Linked DNA regions of Homo sapiens: regions 2, 3 and 4 are each linked to region 1. Evidence: promoter capture Hi-C in human tissues and cell types (Jung and others, 2019). All regions are on one chromosome and are shown on one strand. The core of a region is centred on a gene start or on the middle of the fragment in contact, and the rest is flanking DNA. Distances in the headings are between cores, read along the strand shown. Region 1 holds the start of CASP3 (caspase 3). Region 2 has its middle 27 kb from the start of STOX2. Region 3 overlaps STOX2 (storkhead box 2). Region 4 overlaps CFAP97 (cilia and flagella associated protein 97).

Region 1 (3,170 bases), core at 308-2,807:
CTGCAAAGGATATGACACATCTCTCTTAGGGAATGCTGGCTGCAGAAAGAACACAGCATAGGAAGATTTAACCTTAAACTGTTTAATGAAAACAGAAATTTAAGTAGCAGCTCTTCTAATCAAATGTGATGGCGGGAGAAAGGGAGTGCAGAGGTGTTGCAGGCAGACACTAGGTATGAAGGTCAGCATTGCCGTGCAGAAATCGAACCGGTGCTAAAGATAAGGAGGGGTGGGGGCACTCAGGACCCAACACACGCAGGGGTTTGTTAGCCATATTAAGTGCTGGGTTTAACCTAAGGGCAAAGGACGAGCTTTCTAGACTTTCATTTCATAAAGATCCCTCTGCCTGTGCTGTAAAAAGTGGACTGCAAAGGAGCAGGCGGGTCTGGAAGTGGAGAGACCAGGGAAGAGGCTGCTGTGGTCAGACGGCTGAAATCAGAGATAGAGAGACGCGGACAGATCTGGCAGACATTTACAAGGTCGACAAGGCTTGGCGACTAAGCAGGAAAAGAAGTGGGTGGGCGAGAGGGGGCTGCGAACGATGTTTTCCGGTTTCCTGCTTGGGTGCCACTTACTGAGAATGGGGGAAGAGGCAGGTGCAGGGCACACCCACCGAAAACCAGAGCGCCGAGTGTGAGCAGGGCTCGCTAACTCCTCACGGCCTGGGATTTCAAGGCGACGCCAACCAGCTGTGGCCACGGATACACAGCCACAGGTATGAGCTGCGAGCACTCACGAAACTCTGCAGGGCCGAAAAGGAATTGGAGTTTAAACCCTGCAACTATCTCTCTGGAAGAGCTAAACCACATTGTCAACCCGGGATAATCCAGGCCCCAGGCATGGAAGGCAGCAGAGACGGAAGCCTCGTCCAAAATTGGAAGGATCAGCCCCCAGGGCGAGTATCTCACAGTCAGCACCCGGCCGCCCCAGCCCTCGCAGCACCGCTTCCCGGGGCCACTCCTCCGCCGGCGGTAGCGCCGTCCGTTTCCCAGCTTGCCGCTGCCTTCCGCCGCCTGACCCGGCCTTCCGGCACTCGGCCGGCCGCCAGGTCTCCCGCCCTCGGAGCTCGGTGCCCCGTGCCCGACCTCCCGGCCCCGGGCTCGGTTCCCCTGGCCAGGCCTCCCGCTGCCTGGCCTCCCCGGCCCGGCCTCGCGCTGCCCGGCCTCCCCGGTCCCAGCCCAGCCTCCCGCCCCCGGGCCAGGTCTCCCCTCCGATGACCTGAGGCCTTTCCTTAGGTTACCCCCAGGTCCCTCTCCCTAAATCAAAAGCCTTAACCCGCTGCCTGGCTTCCCCGGCCCCGGCCCAGGCTCCCGCCTCCGGGCCAAGTCTCTCGCTCCGCGGGCTTCACTGCTCGCCCCCGCCCGGGCGAGGTGGCAAAACAAACACTCCGCCTTCCAGACCGGGCAGGTACCCGGGCGGGCGCAGGGCCTGGGAGAACGCAGGGAGCGGGGGCAGGGCTGACGGCCCGGAGCGAGGGCGGCAGTCACCGCACAGCCTCCTCATACCTTCTACAACCGCCTCACAATAGCACCCATCCGCTAGGAGCCGCGTCTGCACTGCTTCCGCGGCCCGCCGCCGGGAGATGTGCTCCAGCGCCAGCCCCGCCTCCCGCCCGCCCCTGTCGGCCCCTCGCGCCGCCTCCGCTGCGGCCCGTCCCCTAGCTCCCGCCCGCCCGAGAACCCAGCCCCAGGCTGGGCCCCAGGAGGCGCCCGCCCACCGCAGCGCGCCCCGCCCCCGCGCCCCGCGTCCTCACGCCCTGGTCCCGCCCTCGCGTCCCGCGCCAGTCCTCCCGCTTTGGTCCCGCCCTGAGGCTCGGCCCGGCTCCCCCGCCCCGGATTTGAAATCTAGGTCTTCCTGAGAGTCCGCGGGCTTCCGCTCCCAGCGCGGGATTCTGGAGGGAAATTGAGGGAGACTTGGAAACCGCGCCAGGCCCAACGGGTACCTAGAAGGGAGACAAAGCCAGGCCTGCTGCCCAGTTTGAGCTCTGGGAAGAAGAGGAGCAGGCCGGGACGCCCACCGGTAATTTCTGTCTCCTCTGCGATGACCTGAGGCCTTTCTTTGGGTTACCCTCAGGTCTCTCTCCCTAAATCAAAAGCCTTAACCTCCTGTCATCAGGGTGCCAGGCTAGAAATAACCAGGTCCACGCATGCTGTGTTTTCCACCATGTCAGGCTGCTGTGGACGCTCTTTCGATCACAAAAGCCACGAGCTGCGTGGAGTTCCCAAGGAGGCAGTTCTCAGCACTTGCTGGTCACTGGGTAGTCAGAGCCTGACACACAGGCTCAAGCCGCTCACGCATCATAGTAGTGTACTTAATCCACATATAAATGTTACAAGTTAAGCATCCCACAACAAAGTAGCATTTAACATCATGAGGAAAAAGAGATGGGGCAAAGAGATTAACGAACCAATCCAGAGGGAGTGAAGAAGAGGAAAAGAAGCCTGGTTTGGGCCGAGAGGTCCTTCTGCAAAGACGGCGTCAATTAAGCCGGCTGTTGGGAGCTGCCGAAGGCCCCATCTTTTATAGTCACAGAGTCCTGTGGTGAGAACTGGTAATGGAAGAGAGTGCTTGTTTGTGTCCTTACCTGGCTGGATGCGGACTATTTTTTTATTTGTTTATTAAAGTATAGTATGCTTGTTGGCAAATGCCTTATGAAATGTAAAAATGGGGTCTTCTCCTAAGATGGAGTTATTAATGGTTACGTCAATGGTGTGCTATATACACTGCCCTACCGATCCCCTTCCTATTTTGGGTCGTGAACTCATTTCAGACCCTGAAGCAAACTGTGAATCATTTTCGCAGAAGAATTCACCAACACATGTGAGCACGACATTCTGCATCAGATTTCAAAAAGTTCTTGACATTCAGAAGTCAGATTCAGGGACCCCATGGCAGAGCCTGTTTCTAACACTTGCGCCTATTCGACTATAGGGACTATATTCTGCACAGAAATATACTTAGTTTTATATATGGTTACCCCTTGCTGAGTTTATTGCATGCTTTTACATTTTCATAATACATTTGTTTGTTTCAGCCTTTCAACAATCCCTCGGGATAGGAATTCCAATTTAAAGAGGATAAGGTTTAAAGAGGTTAAGGCCGAGTTTAAAGAGGTTAAGTCCCGGCGCGGTGGCTCATGCCTGTAATCCCAGGACTTTGGGAGGCCGAGG
Region 2 (3,170 bases), core at 239-2,738, 770 kb before region 1:
AGTTAGTCATGTTGAGCCGGGATGGCAAGGAGAGGTTGCCAGCGCCAGTGGTTTGAAAGGTGCTGAGGCCCCACCTGTATGGAGGCAGCCGCTCAGGGTGCCTGCTGAGCTGTCAGTAGTTCTCATTGTCCCGTAGGGGACCCAGCACCTCCCCTCCTCTCTGCTGCCCAGCCCTGTGGCCTGAGCCAAGTCGTTCACGGCTGCGCCTCCCACTTTCTTGTCTGCAGAGCGAGTGGGGTTGCCAGGAAGGTCATGTAAACCAGTGAAGTGGGCCAAGCGGGCATTCTATTCTGACGTTTCTTGAAACGTGCACAAAGCCCTGTGAGTTCCATTGTGAGTGCGAATGGAGAAGCGTTTTCTAGACTGAGAACGGTTGACAGTAGTTCCTGCATCCTGGAACATGGCCGTGCCGTTCAGTCTTTGTGTTGGGGAGGGTCTTGGAGAATGTGTGGCCCCTCTATAGGGCCACCACTCGGCTTCAGGAAAAAAGGCCCATACTATGAGACTGTGTTTTTTGGGTTTTTTTAATGCTATAAATCTGTAAAACTTACCCAATTTCAAAAAATATGATGAGGACCAAAACTAAAAAAATTATATGTGGGCAGAATTTGCTGAGTCTTCCATCTTTGGGATAAAAACAATCTCTTTTAGCTCTAAGTTCTGTGAGTCTCTGATTCTTGCTATCCCCTGAACTAAAGTCCTGCTACTCAAAGCGTATGGTCTGGGGACCAGCACGTCAGCATCTCCTTTGAGCTCAAGAGAAATGAAGAATCTCGGGTCCGCACACAGACCTACAGGATCTGCATTTTAACCAGATCCCAAACATTTCCAGAAAGATGATGCTAAAATGTTTTGGAGTAGGGGAAACATGAACACCAGCCAGTATGTTAGCATGAATCTGGTTTTCAGGTTAATTCACTGACCAAAAGAATCAATGGATCAGAGCATATAGAGATTACTTTTGACCAAGGGAGAAAATAGGGTCTGTAACTTTGTTGCAGAGCCGTTTTGCATGCTCTGTATGCGTGCTCTGCACAGTGGAGTGGGACGCATGGAAGCTTTGAGTTTCTGGTTGAGGATAAAGCGTTATTAACTTTATTAAGAATTTTAAGCACCTGCCTCATGCCGCACTTCCGCTGCTGCTGCTGCTGCTGCTGTGTTTTTGAGAAGGAATCTCGCTCTGTCTCCCAGGCTGGAGTACAGTGGGGCGATCTTGGCTTACTGCAACCTCTACCTCCTGAGCTCAAGTGATTCTCGTGCCTCAGCCTCCCAAGTAGCTGGGACTACAGGTGCCTGCCACCACACCTGACTAATTTTTTTTTTCTTTTTACTTTTAGTAGAGACGGGGTCTCACCCTGTTGGCCAGGCTGGTCTTGAACTCTTGACCCCAAGTAATCTGCCTTCCTCGGCCTCCCAAAGTGCTGGGATTACAGGTGTGAGCCACAGTACCTGGCTTATGCCACACTTTCACATAATTTATCCTATTAAGCCCTGACAACAGTATCTTGAGGTAAGAATTATCACTTGAAGTTTTTAGACCTGGAAACTGAGTTGCAGAAAGCTTGAGGAACCATCCAAGGCCACTTGCTTGCTAGGAGAGGAAAGAGCTGTGATTTGCACCCAGGAGATCTAAGAAGAGCTTGTCCAGTGCAAGCTTCATTTATACAACTCTGCCATGGCCTGCCCTTGCTGGAGACATTTTTAGATTCAGTGAACCTGCCTGGTAAAGGTGCCATTTGTAGAATTCCCAGGAATAAGAAAAACTAAAATGCAGGCCTTGTAATGCTGCTCCAAGTTTATTCATTATGTTTTGTTTTTTGGTGTTTTTTGAAACAGCTATTACTTAAGCTTTCATTGGTGGTTTTGGCCACGGAAAAGCAGCTACAAAATAAGAAATATTTGTCACTTCATAAGGACCAATTATTCTGTTTTAACAGTCGTTTTCTGGGTTTAATCCAGCAAGTTGGGTCCTGATTTTGATTTGGAATTAGAATTACAGACAATAGCAAATTGAGAACATACATGCAATCTTGGTGTTGAAAGAAAACCAAATGAGTGTGAATCTAAAAAGCATGTTCATTGTGCACCTTTAATGAAAAAATTTTCTGTATAACGACCTCTTCAATTTAGTATTTAACATTTCAAAGGACTTTGAAGGACTCTGCCTTCTCAAAAGTTGTCAAAGATTTTAGCTATTGTCATCATTAGACTTCAAAGCAGAAACTGCAGGCTATTTTAATGCCAATGCTTTTAATCCTAACCTTTGTATTGAGATTAGGAGCACAAAGGATGGCCCGTAAGGGGTGAGCTGAGTTTTTCTATTTTGTTTTCTTTTTCTTTTCCCTAAAGATTTACAGTGAAAGCTCTGCTCTCTAGAATTGTTCTTTACTCATGGATAGTTTTTTTTTTTTTTTAGGTCTAAACTATTTTGAAATCTGCACAATGGTGTCTGTTATTAAAAAAGAACAGCCACAGTAATGAAAGGACTTGGCACTTACAGATCAATTTCATGTGCCCACAGCCTGTTTCTGTAAAAGATCAAGAGCCATAAATCTCTCCCAAATTATCTGTGTTTGTTATTATTTTAGTGTTTGAAGATTAGACGTGTGTATGGGGTGAAGGAGTTGGTGAGAATTATGTGTAGAGACCCCAGGCAGCCTCAGGCCAGCCTCGCGAAGGCATGTCCCCGGGCTCACTGCCACCCTCTCTCTCACCATCTCATCCTTCTTCACCTCCATGAGCCCTACACACATCCCTTGTACGCCTTTCTGCTCTCGGCCCATACATCAAGCATGGACATATTTGTGCAGTGTCCTCACGGAGCAAAAACAGAAGCACACGGTGGCTCTATGCTGGCCTCACTCTGGAGGAAACCACAGAGCTCCGGCAATGAATAGTTTCTCGGGTGTTTGTGCATCGCACGAGTTCACAATGCGGCTGGGCGCTGGGATACAGTGAGTGACTTTCTCTTCTCATGGGCCCTAACATCAGGTAGGCTTGTGTAGCCGTAAGTTAAGTGAGCCGCATCTCCATGATCTCTTCTGTCCCTGGCAATGTCAGATGCCTCGCGTTGGTGTGGCACCTTTCACCATTTCTCCACGGACAACTCCATCTATTAATTTCTTGGAGAAATCTGGAGCCCAGATTTAGGGGGCTCAAGTGGCATAGTT
Region 3 (3,170 bases), core at 230-2,729, 740 kb before region 1:
TGCGCTCCCATTGCCTTCACGCTGCAAGTCTCGGCGCCCCCACCCCGCCCGCCCCCTCCCCGCCTCCTCCCGGCCGGGGAGCCTCCTAACGTGCCTTTCCCCCCAGGAATCTGGAAGCTATAAGCCGGGCGGATTGCAAATGAAGTGTAATGCATTGTGGGACGTGTGTAAAATCGGAGCCTTCGCCGTGGGGGTGTGGGGGGGCGTGGGGAGGGCCGGACCCGCCGCTGGCGGTGTAGACGCCGACGAGGAGGGGCTGGGAAAATGTGCGCAGAGTCCGCCCGGGTCGTGCCCGCCGTAGACGGATGAAGGAGCGCGCTGCGCCCCGGCGCTGAGGCCCCGAGGATCGGGGCGGCAGGTCGCCCTCCCCACCATGAAGAAGACCCGGAGCACAACCTTGCGGCGAGCCTGGCCTAGCTCGGATTTCTCGGACCGGGCCTCGGACCGCATGAGGTCCCGCAGCGAGAAGGACTACCGCCTGCACAAGCGTTTCCCCGCGGCCTTCGCGCCCCAGGCTTCGCGGGGCTACATGACATCAGGTTGGTTGGTGACCGCGTTTCTGCCCCCGGGCCGGGGCCGCGGGACGTGCTCGGTACGCCGCGGCCCGGGTGCTTGGAGGAGAGGACGGGCAGTGATGGATGCGATAAGTTATGGGGAAAGCAGGAAAAAATTAGCTCCCATCCACCATTTTGTACCTCCCAAGATCCACAGCAGGCCCTCTCAATATGGGGTTGGAGAGCTATTAGTTAGGTAAAACGAGGGAGGGGGGACGAGCCGGGCGTTTTGGCTGCAGGGAGATAAATGACTGCAAGCCCCGGCGCTGCAGCCTCCTCGAGCTTTGTGGAGGATCCTGCGCCCAGGGTTGCCTGCAGTGCCAGGCTTGCTGGCTGCTGCATTGTGGCCGGTTATCTGAGTGGGTATTTCCAGCAGCCCCCTGTTCTCCAAAAGGAACAGGTTCCATGCGCAGCTCTGGATGGGCTGAGTCAGGGGAGAGTCCTGCAGACATCCCAGGCTGGTCTGATTTGCACGCAGAGAACTGTGTTGGAGCTTACTGAACGCGTTCTGTGGGGGTAATGGTGTGGATGCGGATTGAATGCTCACATGATTCTGTGTGGATTTAACATATGTTGCTTTGAATTAGGCTGTATGGAAAGAATGGAGGCTGTATCATGTGTTTGCATGTCAGACAGGAGGGACAAACAAAACGGTAAATGGAAAGGGAAGGCTTCAAAAAAGATTTCCGCTTAAAATGCAGTGCTGTGAAAAGCCTTCCTGAAGGAGCCAGTTCTTTTTTTGGAAATACAACGGAATGGCTTTGGTTTGATTTGGGAACCCAGGGATGAAATTCTTGAGGGAAATGCTGAAGGAGGAAAAGCCTGGAAACCTTCCGTTGCCTTCTCCTTACTTCTCCTTAACCACTTGGATGTAATGATGTGTAAGGCATCGGTTCTTATTTATTTTTCATTCAGAGAAAAATTTAGATTTTCTTCTAAGCACACTGTAATGGAAGAACCGAGATTTTATTTTAAACCACATACTGTACCAAATCACTCTGAGCCCTGTCTTAACTGGGAAGATCATTTTAAGCTTGTGGTTGGTACTTACAGTCTAGCTTTACTCTTTTTCTCCTAAAACAGCAAGTCCTTTTTAACTGGGGTCAGCATCTCATGCTTCAAAAATGCCTTGCGACCGCATTTCCACGAACATAAAGCCGAAATAAAAGAACCATCTTTTTTATTGCAAAGTCAGGCGACATAAGGATGTTGTACTATTTTGGCAATAAGGCTCCCTTGATTTTCCCTTTCATGAAAAGCCAAATTCGTAAAGAAAGTGACAACTACAGTTTATACTTCAGTCATTTAAGTCGCTGCTGTGGTTGCTACACTCTTCAGACTTGTGGCAGTAAATTTTGAAACACACCTAAATGCAAACCTAACCTCAAAACACATATGTACATAAACCCATTGCTGCACTAAGTGTTCAGATAATCCTGGGTTTCATGTACTTAGGGTTTGAATGTCTTCATTCCACACTTCACAGTTCCCCTTTCTTATGCCTCCTAAGGAACCGGTCCTGACACCAACTGTGAAGCTATAGGAGGGTTGGTGGCCATCATTTCATCGACAAACCTGCAACACTCTGTTTCATGATTCAGGCACATTTCCAGGCAGCCAGTTTTTTTTTTTTTTTTTTTTAATCTATCTTGGCATTACCTCATTATCACATTTGCATTCTTTGCAAAAGAACTTGTCTGCTATTGCAGGTGCTGCGAGGCGTTTTTGAGGGCTTGAGGAAGAAGCTTTTAATTGTACTTGATTCCCTTATTTTATTTCTTGATCTACAAATGGTAAGATGGTCCTATGGTGATAATGAAGGATAACCTGTTTCAGGTTGGCGGTTTTCTGTTCAGATTCAATGTTAGGTTACTGCTGAGAAACCTGAAGACCAAAAGATGGAAGAAAAGTGCTGTCATTCATTCAGCATTTTTATGGCGTGCCCCCAAAGAGCGAAGTGCCTTGCTGGATTCTCATGGGGTTATAGGGTTGGATATAATACGGTTCTTGCCCAGGGAGGGAGGCTTATCATTTATTCTTTATTTTAACTGTTAGCTAATACATGGAATAAGAAGCAGGTGTTGCTGCTATGGAAGGAAATGGTAAACATGATGACAAACACCTACAATGAAGATTGGGAGAGTAGGTGGAGTCTTTCTCATGTGCAACTCTTTTGGGGGTTGGGTTGGGAAGGATGTGTATCTTCATCTATTTCCTTTACAAATATGGCTCCTTTCAAAATGTGAGTATTGATAGAAATAGATGATATACTGAAACACTTGGAAATGATTTATAAGACATTCTCATCCTTTTAGGAAATGTAAAGGAGATCCACTTTTATCAAGTTAGTGACTTTGGATACAAACAGAGCCTTTGTCACATAAAATATTGAGTAGAAAATGAAACCACTTAGAAACACATGAGGCCTTTCATATTTCTTCTTTCTGTTTGTTCAGCCATTTGGTTTAATTACTACTGGTATCCTTATACTTGATTTTTAGTAAAAAAGGTTTTTGTTGTGGGGAAATTACTTGGGTTCAAAGGACAAGATAAGCCTTTCAGAGATGTACTAAATGACTTAAAATAACTTCAGTTAAGAGACTATTTTTAGACCCC
Region 4 (3,170 bases), core at 247-2,746, 520 kb after region 1:
TTTAAGGTGTAAACCAACCTTGTCCAACCTGTGGCTTGCAGGCTGCATGCAGCTCAGGATGGCTTTGAATGCGGCCCAGCGCAAATTCATTAACTTTCTTAAAACATTATGAGATTTTTTTTTGGTGATTTTTTTTTTTAGCTCATCAGCTATGGTTAGCATATTTTATGTATGGCCCCAGACAATTTTTTTCCTTCCAGTGTGGCTGAGGGAAGCCAAAAGAATGGACACCCCTGGTGTAAGCCCCAAAATCAAAAGTGTATGCATTTTAATTTAGTCATCAATTTAGAACTCTTATGCAAAAGTTAAAAAACAACAGTTCAGGCTGGGTGCAGTGGCTTACATCTGTAGTCCCAGCACTTTGGGAGGCCAAGGCAGGAGGATCGTGTGAGCCCAGGAGTTCAAGACCACCCTAGGCAACATGGCGAGACCCCGTCTCTTACAAAAAATACAAAAATTAGCCGGGCGTGGTTGCATGTGCCTGTGGTCCCAGCTACCCAAGAGGCAGAGGAGAATGGCTTGAGTCCAGGAGGTCGAGGCTGCAAGTGAGTCATGATCACACCACTAGACTCCAGCCTGGGTGACAGAGGAAGACCTTATCTCAAACAAACAAACAAACAAAAAATTTCAAAATGCTGTAACGATTGTAATACAGTGATAATAAATATAAGCTATATGGTCAGAAAGATTTGGGCTTAACACTTGGCTCTGCCACTGATTGTGTCCTTGATCAAATTCCACGATAAGGATATTAATAACGAAATAACCTCAGAGTCAGTTTTTAGTAATTAAGTGATAGAATGCATCTAAAGTGCTTAAAATAGTGCCTAGTATCTAGCAAGAACTTATTCAGGCTGGGCGTGGTGGCTCACCCCATAATCCCAGCACTTTGCGAGGCTGAGGCAGGCAGATTACTTGAGGTAAGGAGTTCGAGACCAGCCTGGCCAACATGGTGAAACCCCATCTCTACTAAAAATACAAAAAAAAATTAGCCCAGTGTGGTGGCAGACGTCTGCAGTTCCAGCTACTCCGGAGGCTGAGGCATGAGAATCACTTGAACCTGGAAGGCGGAGGTTGCAGTGAACCGAGACTGTGCCACTGCACTCTAGCCTGGGTGACAGTGTAAGACTCCTTCTCAAAAAAAAAAAAAAAAAAAAAGAACTTATTAAAATTAGTGGTATTGTTAATATTGCTGTATTTTCTAGTTGTTTGACATGCAACAGTATTATCTTCCCAGCTAAGTTTTAAAGTACATGACAGTTAAGGGAGTATTTCATATGTATTTTATATTCCTTCCTTACATTGCTCATAACAAATACTAAACAAATATTTAATGGATTAAAAAACAATAAGAATGGTAATGTACGGTTTACAAAATCTTAGAACTGCCACTCAAATCAGATTCTAATAATGAATCCCAAAAGAGTTTGCCCACTTTTTTTTTTTCAGAAATTGCATTTTTTGGCTGGGTGCGGTGGCTCACACCTGCGATCCCAGCACTTCGGGAGGCTGAGGCAGGCAGATCACCTGAGGTCAGGAGTTTGAGACCAGCCTGGCCAACATGGTAAAACTCCATCTCTACTAAAAATACAAAAATTAGCTAGGCATGGTGACACACACCAGTAATCCCAGCTACTTGGGAGGCTGAGGCAGGGGAATCACTTGAACCTGGGAGGCAGAGGCAGAGTGCTGCATCACTGCACTCCAGCCTGGGAGACAGAAAGACTCTGTCTCAAAAAATAACAATAAAAGACCAGGCACGGTGGCTCACGCCTGTAATCCCAGCACTTTGGGAGGCTGAGGCGGGCAGATCACGAGGTCAGGAGTTCGAGACCAGCCTGGCCAACATGGCGAAACCCCATCTCTACTAAAAATACAAAAATTAGCTGGGCATTGTACAAAAATACAAAAATTAGTGGGCAACTGTAATCCCAGCTACTTGGGAGGCTGAGGCAGGAGAGTTGCTTGAACCCAGGAGCTGGAGGTTGTTGGAGCAAGCCGAGATCGTGCCACTGCACTCCAGCCTGGGCAACAAGAGCAAGACTCCGTTTCAAAAAAAAAAAAAAGGTGCAATTTTGGGTAATTATGTATATTAACGTAAACAACTTGAAGTTTTAATATAGGTATACATGCTGAAATAACACTTGAGCTACTTACACATCCATCATCTCACAGAGTTACCATTTTTATTTATGTGTGTGGTGAGAACACCTAAGATCTAGTCTCTTAGCAAATGTCAAGTACCCAAGGTACAAAGTTCCAGTCATGCAAGATGAGTAAGTTCTGGAGATCTAATGTACAGCATGTTGACTATAGTTAACAATACTGTGTTATATACCTATTGATACGGTCTGACTCTGTGTCCCCACCCAAATCTCATCTCGAATTGTAATCCCCACGTATGGAGGGAGGGACTTGGTGGAAGGTGATTGGATCATGGGGGTGGTTCCCCCATGCTGTTCTCGTGATAGTGAGGGAGTTCTCATGAGATCTGAGTTACTTAAAAGTGGCAGTTTCCCCTGTGTTCTCTCTCTATCCTGCCACCATGTAAGACATGCCTTGCTTCTGCTTCGCCTTCCAGCATGATTCTAAGTTTCCTGAGGCTTCTCCAGCCTTGCAGAACTGTAAGTCAATTAAAACTCTTTTGTTTATAAATTACCCAGTCTCAGGTAGTATCTTTACAGCAGTATGAAAATGGACTAATACACTTGTCCAAACATTTATTTTATATCCAGGAATTATTCTCTTTGGAAAAAAAATTAACCTAGCCCATCTTTTGATGTTTAAACAAATGTAAACAAATAAATGTCTTAATGATTTCTGCAGCCGTTAGCAGAGGAGAGTTGCTTTAGTGTTTCTAGAGCGATGAAGCAAAGACCTTGTAAGGACACTAAAAAGTAACAACTGTCCCCCACACAGGCAGAATCAAGACGACTGCTCTCTACATTTCAACAGTGGGAGTCACACTGAGTTATCATTAGCTTGCTTTCTTCAACGGAAGGAGATAACAGACCTTAACCAGACAAGAAGGAAACCCCAATGAAGTAAAGTATACATTATTTCAAGATCTTAGAACAAAAGTACTGTTAATCAACAGATTAATATTCATAGTAGGTATGAGACTTGCTATAAATCATTTTTGTGACAATTTATCACAATCTCCCTTTAAT

Evidence for each region. Contacts are between HindIII fragments. The study calls those that stand out against the background at their distance.
Region 2: a contact is called between a fragment that was not itself captured here and the fragment with the promoter of CASP3 in region 1, in 1 of the 25 tissues and cell types used here (hippocampus).
Region 3: a contact is called between a fragment that was not itself captured here and the fragment with the promoter of CASP3 in region 1, in 2 of the 25 tissues and cell types used here (hippocampus and mesenchymal stem cells).
Region 4: a fragment that was not itself captured here is called in contact with the fragment with the promoter of CASP3 in region 1 in 1 of the 25 tissues and cell types used here (dorsolateral prefrontal cortex).

What each region holds. Positions count from the first base shown.
Region 1 is chr4:184,647,890-184,651,059 of GRCh38, forward strand. CASP3 (caspase 3) reads right to left here and starts at 1,558. Exons shown (of 8, transcript NM_004346.4): 1 at 1,506-1,558; 2 at 576-742. It overlaps PRIMPOL (primase and DNA directed polymerase), which reads left to right and starts at 1,849. Exons shown (of 14, transcript NM_152683.4): 1 at 1,849-2,019. RefSeq lists silencers at 1,066-1,275, 1,286-1,865. The HindIII fragment of the contact is 11,001 bases long and covers 1-3,170 here.
Region 2 is chr4:183,876,535-183,879,704 of GRCh38, forward strand. It overlaps a transcript of STOX2 not described here. Among named protein-coding and RNA genes, the nearest start is that of STOX2, 27 kb to the right of the region's middle. RefSeq lists an enhancer at 1,837-2,589. The HindIII fragment of the contact is 4,877 bases long and covers 1-3,170 here.
Region 3 is chr4:183,906,418-183,909,587 of GRCh38, forward strand. STOX2 (storkhead box 2) reads left to right here. Exons shown (of 4, transcript NM_020225.3): 1 at 1-539. The coding sequence starts at 374. Among named protein-coding and RNA genes, the nearest start is that of STOX2, 2.7 kb to the left of the region's middle. The HindIII fragment of the contact is 3,568 bases long and covers 1-3,170 here.
Region 4 is chr4:185,166,862-185,170,031 of GRCh38, forward strand. All of the region lies in intron 3 of CFAP97 (cilia and flagella associated protein 97), which reads right to left. Among named protein-coding and RNA genes, the nearest start is that of SLC25A4, 25 kb to the left of the region's middle. The HindIII fragment of the contact is 8,838 bases long and covers 1-3,170 here.